Regions from separate parts of the Homo sapiens genome. Here regions 1 and 3 are each linked to region 2. The links are contacts of gene promoters, found by promoter capture Hi-C in blood cells and fetal thymus (Javierre and others, 2016). All regions are on one chromosome and are shown on one strand. The core of a region is centred on a gene start or on the middle of the fragment in contact, and the rest is flanking DNA. Distances in the headings are between cores, read along the strand shown.

What was found. The method cuts DNA at HindIII sites, captures the fragments that hold promoters and counts their contacts. A CHiCAGO score of 5 or more calls a contact.
Region 1: a contact is called between a fragment that was not itself captured here and the fragment with the promoter of LINC03008 in region 2, in 2 of 17 cell types (megakaryocytes and erythroblasts). The highest score is 6.1, in megakaryocytes.
Region 3: a fragment that was not itself captured here is called in contact with the fragment with the promoter of LINC03008 in region 2 in 1 of 17 cell types (erythroblasts); the score reaches 5.8 in erythroblasts.

The regions. Positions count from the first base shown.
Region 1 is chr7:130,821,372-130,824,537 of GRCh38, reverse strand. All of the region lies in intron 3 of LOC105375508 (a long non-coding RNA gene), which reads right to left. All of the region lies in intron 2 of LOC105375509 (a long non-coding RNA gene), which reads left to right. It also overlaps the pseudogene LOC347674 and the pseudogene H4P1. Among named protein-coding and RNA genes, the nearest start is that of MIR29A, 54 kb to the left of the region's middle. The HindIII fragment of the contact is 480 bases long and covers 1,560-2,039 here.
Region 2 is chr7:130,139,739-130,143,262 of GRCh38, reverse strand. LINC03008 (long intergenic non-protein coding RNA 3008) reads right to left here and starts at 1,532. Exons shown (of 2, transcript NR_149034.1): 1 at 1,491-1,532; 2 at 645-1,004. RefSeq lists enhancers at 971-1,634, 1,823-1,962, 2,143-2,222, 1,635-2,298. The HindIII fragment of the contact is 6,567 bases long and covers 1-1,946 here.
Region 3 is chr7:130,750,859-130,754,392 of GRCh38, reverse strand. The region is part of intron 3 of LOC105375508 (a long non-coding RNA gene); the gene reads right to left. Among named protein-coding and RNA genes, the nearest start is that of KLF14, 18 kb to the right of the region's middle. The HindIII fragment of the contact is 1,400 bases long and covers 1,221-2,620 here.

The sequences.
Region 1 (3,166 bases), core at 550-3,049, 680 kb before region 2:
CCCCAAAGCCATCGAGAAGTAGATACAAATAGGCATAATAAACTAAACAGCAGAGTATAGCAAGCCCTTTACATATGAGTAAAGAGTTGTGGACATTTTTATATATAGAGGCCAATGTCTACTCTGGGCATAGGTGAGTAGAGAAGTGGCCTAGCTATAGATAGAGAAATTTTTCAAAGAACAAAAAAAAAAATCCATTGAATACTTAATAATAGCATGGGCTGGCAAGACGAATTGGAATTTGGAAGAGCTCTAATGCAAACATAAATTATTTAGTCCAACAATTCCCTCTCCACTCTAAGAATTTGCTGCAAAAGTGACAAAGGGGTATCCTGAAGTATCAGTGGGCATGAGGCTAGAAACTAGAGAAAGTTTGTGCAGTCTTGAGTGTTCTGATTCTAAAGCCTAATTGTAGTTGAATCCAAAAGTCATCCAAACCAACTCATGTGGCAACTAATCTCCTTCCAGTTAAATTCTGACAGTATCAAAGGGATGAACCACTTAGTGGCAACAATGCAGGAAGCTGGGGTTAATACTGTAGCCCAATTCCAGTCTTCACATCTTAGTTGGCACTGGACAAACAACCCATTATCCCATAAACCTGAATGGAAGGAAGGATTTGAAAGTTCTGTGAAAACAAAACACAAAATATTATACAGCAGTATCCACTATCATTTATACACAATTTTTGCCTTACGGTAAAATATTGAGACATGGGAAGATGCAAAAAAAATCTGATACATAAGAGAAAGAAATCATCAATAGGAGACCCACAAGATGACCTAGACAGAGGAATTAGCAGACTTATGACTTTAAAACAACTACTATAAATATAGTTAGGAATTTACAAGGAAAGAAAGAAGGAATAGGTGAAGACATGGGAAATACAATATATGAAATGAAAAATTCATTGTGTACCCTTAACATCATATTGGGCACCACAGAAAAAAAGATCAGTGAAATTTGAACACAGGTCATAAAATTTTTGCAAACTGAACCACAAAAAGAAAAAGCATCTGTTTTGTCATGTCTGGCTGAGGCAAAGGTGGAAAAGGACTGGGTAAGGAAGGAACTAAGTGTCACTGCAAGGTCCTACGTATGACAGCCTGCAAGGCATCTATCTGCAAGCCTCCTATCTGGCATCTTGCTTGGTGTGATGGTGTCAAGAGCATTTCTGGCCTCATCTATGAGGAGATCCAGGAGGTTTTGAAGGTGTTTCTGGAGAATGTGATCCAGGATGATGTCACACCAAGCATGCCAAGTGCAAGATGTAACAGCCATGGGCGTAGTCTATGTGTTTAAGTGGCAGGGGTGCACCCTTTATGGCTTTGGTGGCTAAGAATCAAGGTTGAGATTTTGAAAATAATTTTGAATTTTGCTGAAAATCAGATATGCTAAAAAAAGAAAAAACTTCTCAGTACCCAAGTGTCTACATATTTAATTATCTCTACAATTCTTATGTGGAATAAGAAATTTTTATTGATGCCCTTACTATATTTGAGATCATCTATGACAATCTCAGAGTAGAAGTGTTCAGCTATAGAGAATTCAATAAAGCTTCCCTTTTCAAACGTATGCATTGCATTTGGAGTGTGTGTTAAGAAAATTAGAGCCTTAGCAAATCAGATGACCTCTCGGTGAAAGTGAAAGTTATAAAACTAGTGAACAAATTCTAATTGGTTATGTGCTCTCAAAAGACTTCAAGAAATTTCTTGGTTTTGCAGCTGGAGGCATTGAAAATTGAAAGTTACTGCTTTTCCACTTAGTCATATAATAAAGGGATCCTTTCAGCTGCTAGTTTTGAATAATGTCTCACCCAGAGTGATGTTATCTGTGACAGTCACCTGCTTCAAGCTGAACCATCTTATGAATATCAAATAAATAGTCCTCTTGTGCTGAAAACATATTTGTGATTTTAATCATGCTGCTTGGATTGAAATATTTTTTACTGGTTCCTCTGAATTGACAGTGAACCTGTCTATTATAAATGACATACTGTTTTGTTATTTGTTTTGACTTCAATTTATCCACCAAAAGCTTCATTTGTGTATCATCAAAAAAGTTGTATGTTTCAACTGAAAGAAAAAAAGAGAGAAAGATTGAAATAAAAATGTATAAAGAATCACTGATCTGTGGGACAATTTGAAGTGATCTAATATATATAATTCAAGTCCCGGAAGAATAGGAGAGAGAGAATGGAGAAGAAAAAATACTTTAAAAAATAATGACCAACATCTTCCCAATTTGAAGGTGAACAAACCCAAAGCACCACTAAGCTAAGGAAACCCTGAGCAAGATGAACAAAAAGAAAACTATGCTGAGGCACATACATAAATGTCAAACTGCAGAGAACCAAAAATAAAGAGAAAATCTCAAAAGCGGCTGGGGGAAGGGGGAAGGCAGAGAGGGATATATCACAGTACATACAACAATAAGAACTATGGCTGACATCTTACTAGAAACAATGGAAGCAGGCTGGGCACAGTGGCTCATGTCTGTAATCCCAATACTTGGGGAGGCTGAGGTGGGTGAATCACTTGAGGTCAGGAGTTCAAGATCAGTCTGGCCAACATGGCAAAAACCCGTCTCTACTAAAAATAAAAAAATTAGCTGGCCACGGTGGCATGTGCCTGTAATCCCAGCTACTCAGGAGGCTGAGGCATGAGAATGGCTTGAACCTGGGAGGTGGAGGTTGCAGTGAGCCAAGATCGTGCCACTGCTCTCCAGCCTGGGTGACAGAGCTGGAAAAAAAAACAAGAAAGCTGGGCATGGTGGCTCATGCTTGTAATCCCAGCACTTTGGGAGGCCAAGGCGGGCAGATCACGAGGGCAGGAGATCGCGACCATCCTGGCTAACATGGTGAAACCCCGTCTCTACTACAAAATACAAAAAATTAGCCAGGCGTGGTGGCGGGCACCTATAGTCCCAGCTACTCGGGAGGCTGAGGCAGGAGAATGGCATGAACCTGGGAGGCAGAGCTTGCAGTGAGCTGAGATTGTGCCACTGCACTCCAGCCCGGGGGACGGAGCGAGACTCTGTCTCAAAAAAAAAAAAAAAAGAAAAGAAAAGAAAGAAACAATGGAAGCCAAAAAGCAATGGGAAATCTTTAAAATGCTGAAGAAAAAAAAAGTCAACTAGAATTTTAGAAAACATATCCCTTCAAGAA
Region 2 (3,524 bases), core at 283-2,782:
AGCCCTTGCTGCCTCACTCGCCTCACCCTAGCCCTGGCTCTGCCTCATTGAGAAGACCACATTAAAAAACTGAAGGAGGCCAGGCACACAGCCATGTGGATACTGGAGGAGGAGACCTCCAGAAAGAGGGAGCACGCTTGACCGCTCAAGGAGCAGCAAGGAAGCCACCGTGGCTGGTCGAGAGTGAGCAAAGGCACAGTGGTAGGAGTTGAGGCCAGAGAAGTTTGGACTGTGCGGGCCCTGGAGAGAGCTGGGTAAATGGGACATTTCAGGGTGTTCTGCAGGCAAAAGCAGGCCCTCCCACCCTCAGTTCTGTTCTGTCTCCGGGCAGTCCACAAGCACCTGAGGGCCCACGTGAGGAGAAGAGGCCTGGGTTTTCCGGGCCTGGAAGCTCCACTGCCAGAAGCATTCGCCCCCTGGCCCAGACAAACCAAGGTCAGAAGGCACCTCCACCCAGGTTTCCACAGGCGTCCCTGCTGCTGCTTCACTGGGCTGAAGCTACCCACGTTCACTCAGCTTTGCCAGGGCAGGATGCTTACTCCCTACAACCTCCCTCTGTGCCGTTTTTCTCCTATCCCTGGGCACGCAGGTGAAAGCTAAATGAGGAGAGACCCGCCCCACACCTGAGTGGCCAGGCTGACTCCTGTGGTGGAACGAGTTTTTAATAAAACCAGAAGAGCTTCCCAATTCCACGCCTCGCTGCAGTCTCTTCACCTTGCTCCAGAGGAAAGACCCAGAGTATGGCAGGGCTGCGGTTAGCGAGGGCTTTGGTCAGCAGCTGGAGAGTGCCGTAGTGACATGGTGACAGTCCTCGGCCCCCAGGAGGGGCGGAGGCCACCCCTCTGGGACCCCCAGCCCTAGAATCCCATGCAGGAGTGACTCTGCTGTCCCATCACACTCACAGCTGCAGCAAGGATGCCTTTCCAGCAGTCACACTCCCACGCAGGGGTCAGCCTTCCTCCCAGGGGGAGCAGGGTGGAGCGGGAGCTGGTCCTCCCAGCATACTGCAGGCGGACAACAGTGGCCTGTTTCAGGTGACACCTGTCTTTGGGCCCAGGTCCCACTTCTGTGGTTGTCCCCAGGCTGAGCTGCCCCCTGGAAGGGTTTTCTGGAAAGGACCAGAGAGGTGTGGATTTCGGAATCTCTGAGAGCTCTGGCACCTCTGTTTTCTGCTCCCTGGGTTGAGTGGCCAGAAGAGCCTGTGTGCTTGCATTTTCGGTATGACCCCTGGCCCTTATGTGTCTCTGTGTCCCCAGGCCCCTGCTCAATTCTCCACTTCACCGAGGGTGCCTGACCCCTCTCCTTTTCCCTCCATCCCCCCACTTCTGAACGCACCCCACCGTGTGCATGGGAGGGTCCTTCCTCCCTGTGGCTTTTCCGGGGAGCCTTTTCTTCTCCCTGAAGTCACCCCCGCATATCCCGGAGAGCCACAGCGCCTATCCCCTGGGTTGCCATGGAAACAGCCTTCTTTCCTCTTCCCTCCTGTTTACCTTGGTCAGGGACTGCGGCAAAAACCAGCCCGTCGCTGGAGGAGAGGGAGAGCAGTGGGCGGGGGAGCAGGGAGGGAGCCAACCCGCTCCAAACCAGATCATTCCGGTTCAGAGCGGCTTCCCCTCCGGTCCTAGGAGCCTCTCCGACAAGGCGCGCTGGGCTGCGCAGGGAGGCCCTGGGCCGAGCTGGCCTTAGTGGGGAGGGCCTGAGCCCACCCTGGCCAGCACCCCCTCCCCAGTTCCGTCCGGCCTCCATGCGTCCCTCCTGCCAGTGCTGGCGCAGCGGGGCCTGGGGCGCTGTCCCTGATTGCTGGCTGTTCCCCGCACAGGGGCGCCCTGCTGGGGCGGGGGTGATGGGAGCAGAAGTGTCTCGGCCCCAAAGGTGCTTTCGCCCTCCTGGGACCCCCGGGCACTCTCCTGCGACAGGGATGCTCTGTGTGGCTCTGGCTTAAAGCTTCCCGCTGCGTTTAGAGAAGCCAAACCCTTCGTCCCAGCCCCGGGATAGGTGCGGGGCCGCCTCTTCGCGGGGATTCCCCTGGCTCCCACCGCAAGGCTTCTTCCCCTTGCAGAAGACACCAGAAGCTGGGTTTTGTCCCTGCCCCGAACACTCTGGTCACACTTTCTAGCTCCCCGTGCACACCGGGCGGGAGGCTTTCCTTGTTTCTACGCCACACAGCTCCTATTCCCCCTCCATGGGCCACTGTGGTCATCTTGCTCGTTTGCTGTGGTCTGATCGATCGCCTCCTCCCCAATGGAAACTTCCCGAAGGCAGGGCCCGCTCACGCAGCACCCCAGCACCAATGGCACGTGCCAGATGTTCGGTGAGCGACGGTGGCCTCGAGGATGGGACGCGCGGCGGCGCCGGGCTGCGGGGGCCACCTCCCGGCCGAGTCCCCTCCCCGCTAGCGGGCGGCAGCTTCTTAGTCGTCTGGGTGTACAGACTGAAATCCACGGCTCTTCCTCCCCAGCCATGTGCGCTGCAGGCGGCAAGTCCATGGCCAGCGGGCGGGTAGCCCAGCGCACCGGGCCTTGGGGAGCCGCCCGCAGCACGGACCGCCCTGGCCCCTGGCTTCACCGCCCCTGCGCGGCTGCTCCCAACCCAGAATCCCGGGAAGCCAGGGGTGACTTCACGTCCCCGAAAGCCCTTCTGAAAGAATTTTCTCAGTAACTATCCAGGCCCATGTGCCTGCCGCCGGGTCCCAGGAGGATGAAAGTTCTCATGAACGCGACCTTGCAAGCTTGCAGACTTGGACTCCCTTCTCTGGCCCTTGGCAAATCACTGAATTTGTCTTGTCTTGGCCTGCCAATCTGTGAAACGGGGATAAAACTTCTAGGCCTGCGATTCAATACAGGCTTGCCGAGGAGAAAATGAACTGAAAATGCTTGGCTGACATGGCAGGGGCTGCAGAGGCTGGGCTCTGGGTTAGTGTGTGTGTTTGGGGTCCGGGGTTAGATCCAGTGTAAAGCTGGAGTTCTCGTCCTGGATGCCCTAGTATGCAAGTAGCTCTGAGACACCCCTGTGCCTATTGTTCTTATAAACCGCGTCTTTGTGGGCAGCAAGCCTGTGCAGTGCAGGGTGAGCCCAGGCAGAGGCCGACATCCCGAACCATGACCTGATCTTAGCTGTTTCAGGGTGAGGTTTGGGTAGTAAATAACCCAGGTGCAGGAGATGCCTGGATGGCCTGGATGTATTTTTCTGGGGCTGGGAGAGTAACAAAGTTTGCTCCCTGACAGTGGGGTGGGGATTTTGAACACATCCTAGGCAGTCATGGTGAGAGCCTCCTCCACTCCCAGAACCTTGCGGTTCTAAGTGGCAGGTTCAAGGAGGATAAACTGACCAGTCTGACTCCTCTAAGGTGACACAGGCTGCATGGCAGCTGCTTTCTCTTTTCATGGATGTCATCTGCAATACTCTAAAGCTCCTGGCCTGCTGTGGGGCCCCCAAATAGTAAGTGGCCAGAGCTCCCAGCTGTCTCTGCCTTCTCTTCCCAAGTCCTGGAGCTGGGCTGTGGTGGCTCCTGACCTCCCTGAGTG
Region 3 (3,534 bases), core at 671-3,170, 610 kb before region 2:
CCATTCCTCAATCTGTGGCTTTACTGAATCTGTAAGATGAAGGACCAGACCCAATGTATTGAAAGAGGGACAGCACCTCTGAGGTCATTGCCTGAGCAGCCAGACAGCCATTCCCATTTAAATGTTAACAGTTGTCTAACAACCCTTGAATGGGGAAGTTCTTCAATACAGTGAGGATCTTTTGAGATCCTTCATTCACTAACTTAACTTTCTTTACCTGTCCATAGGGATTCTAAGCAGGTAGTTCTCAAGTGTGGTCTCCAGACCCGCAACAACAACATCAAGCTGGGACCATGTCAAAAATGCTAATACTGGCCGGGTGCGGTGGCTCATCCCCGTAATCCCAGCACTTTGGGAGGCCGAGGTTGGGGCATCACCTGAGGTCAGAAGTTCAAGACCAGCCCGGCCAACATGGTGAAACCCCATCTCTACTAAAAATACAAAAATTAGCCAGGCGTGGTGGTGGGTGCTTATAATTCCAGCTACTCAGGAGGCTGAGGCACAAGAATTGCTTGAACCTTGGAGACAGAGATTGTAGTGAGTCAAGATCGTCCCACTGTACTTCAGCCTGGGCAACAGGACAAGACTCCATCTCCAAAAAAAAAAAAAAAAAAAAAAAAGGAAAGAAAAGAAAAGAAAAAGCTAACTCTAAGGTCCCACCCCAGACCTACCCGGTCAGAAATCTGGGGTGGGAGATTGGCAGGGAGACAAGCCATCAGGATTTTAACACGCCCTATAGATGCTTCTGGTGCAGGCTCAGCTTTAAGAACCACCGTTCTAGGGGGTTTGCCCTAAGTCACAGATAGTAAAGGGCAAGAGAAGATTTCCAGTCTGCATATCCTTTCTGTCTCATAGAAATCTACTGAAATTTAGTAAAGTTTCCTCCCTTTACACACTAAGTAGTAACATTTCATTCCAATTAACCCTGCATCTGTGTCCCAGAGTAACAGATTCCTACTGTAGTTTTGGCACTAGTCTTCCCCCAATTATTTCCCCTGAGATGTTATTGTCAGTGTCCAATCTATTCCTCAACTACTCTTGTCAGTAACTTAAATTCCCCTGTCCCTACTGGTACCAGTCTAGGATACATTTTAAATTCCAGTGTTCCAAGGTAATTCAGAGAAGGACAGAGATTAATGTGGCTCACCAAACCTAGGAACATTTTCTGGCCTCGTGATGGCACCCAGCATCAGAGAAGAGGCAATGTACTACCTCAAGCTTAGCTGCAGGGAGAACATGTTGACCACGGCTTATATAAATCAAGACCCCCTTCTTCCATAGCAGTATTTTCTCAATTTTCTCTTAATTTATTCCCTTCTCAGCACCACAACAACCCAATCCCCATGAGATGCTATGAAGATGTTATCAGGGGAGACAGAAAGCCTTCAATAGGAGCTCCAGGATCAATGCAGATATCTGTCCCCAGGGGATCATCTTGTTCTCATTGGATTTGGCCACCTTGCAACACACAGCACCTTCCCCTGATCACCTAAATGCTTCCAACACAATCTATGGCCTCCTAATGTCTCGACACCTCCCATGGGATATCCCACAACATCAATAATGGAACCAAATACAGAAATCACATAAACCTTACGGGAAGAGTGATAGCTCACAATGGTACACACTAGACTCAGGAAAAAGGATTATGAGCTATTACCAGGCAGTCCTGTTACGGAGCCAAGAGATATAGGAAGTGAGAAGGCTGGAAAACAAAGGGGAAAAGACATAGCAGCTAAAGCTGGTCTGAAGGCAGAGCTGTCCAGCCACCAGGCTGAACACCCATTATTATGTCCTCACACGTGACCGAGTGTTGTTTCAGGACTGCTTCGCTATGTCTGTCCTCCCTCCGCATGGCACCCTGATACTGTGAGCCTTCCAGTCGTTTTTCTTTTTAATAAAATGTTAAAACGAAATTGAGATCATGTCATACTTACAGTATACAACCTTGTTTTTGCTTTATAGTTTGTAACATTTGCAGGTCATTATATGTTTTCTACATTAGCAATTTCCTGGCTGTGTAGAGGTTCACTGTAAATAAATAGGTATCATAATATAATTCACCAGTTCCCTATTTGGAAGCATTTATATTGACTGTATTGCCTTCATAGTACATTATATCACTTATTCATATAAAAATAATTATATTTGTTCCATTTGATATTCTCATCCTGAATTCTATTTCATGTGATTTTAATATTAGCATGCATGGATGGGTTCTTTGGGTTGCATTTGCCTCTGATATTCTTGCCCATCTCATTACTTTTCTACCTTCTCTGTCAATTTCATTTTGCAGTTTCTCCTTTTGTAAACAGCTTACGACTAAATTGTATTTTTTTTACTCAATCTGAGTCTTTTGTGTTTTGAAAGATATTTTTAAGCCACATCTGTCATGACAAAAGTTATACTTGGTGTTTGTTCTGTCACTTTATTTTATGGTTTCTATTTGTAATACTTCCTGTTTCTTATTTCTTTTTTTACTGTAGTAATCAAATTTATTCTTTCTTCTCATTCATGATTTGGGAATTATATACCTTTTTGTTTTCTACTTGGGCTTAGTTAATTTAAAGTGTATAAATATGTTTGAATTATGCCTCTTTATTTCACTAACTTAAAAGCTTAGTAAAATACCAAGATATTTGTTAAGCAAAATAAAACAAAACATAAACACATTTGCATTTTTAAAGTTCCAGTAAGACCAAATTTTGTTGAGTTAAATGTGTACCTTTCCTTCATGATCCCCTACTTTAAGAACCACTGCCTGAGCTTTGATGTGTATCTACCCAGACCTTCTATGTGTGTGTATGTGTGTGTGCATGTAGATTTGTAATTTTTTTTAAATAGGACAATATGCATGTTTTCTTATTTGCTTTTTTCACTTAATAATGCATTTCATTATAAATAAATTTACACAGTACTCTATCAGTACTCACATATGTGTCATCCATCCTGTCACAGCAGCCCACCCTACGGACTCACTTCATTTATGTAACCATTCCTCTGCTGATAGATGTTTAATTTGGTCCCTATTTTTGACTACTATGATGTTCTAATAAAAAATCTTTTATATATATATTTGTGCACCTATGTGAGTATTTTATAGTATTAATACCTAGAAGTGAAATTGCTGAGTCAAAAAGTATGCACGTTTGGGTTTTTGATAGCTACTACCAAATTATCTTTCAAAAAGTTGTACAGATGTATACACTCCCAAAAACTCTACGGGACTGTTGCCTCACACCCTTCCTGGTGTTGGGTTTTAACAATCTTTAAAAGCTTTGCCTATCTGATGGTTGAAAATGATATTGTATCATTGCTTTCATTCACAGCTCACTGATGGAAAGTGAGGTTGTGAATCTCTTCCGAGCTACTGACTCTTTGGTTTCTGTGAACTCCCTATACTTACCCTGTACCTCATGTACTTTGCCCACTTGTCTTTTATAGTATTTACCTTTTTACATGTTAATTTGTAGGCACCCTTTGCATTATGGATGTTAGTCCTTTGTCTGTAATATTTGCTGAATATATATATTC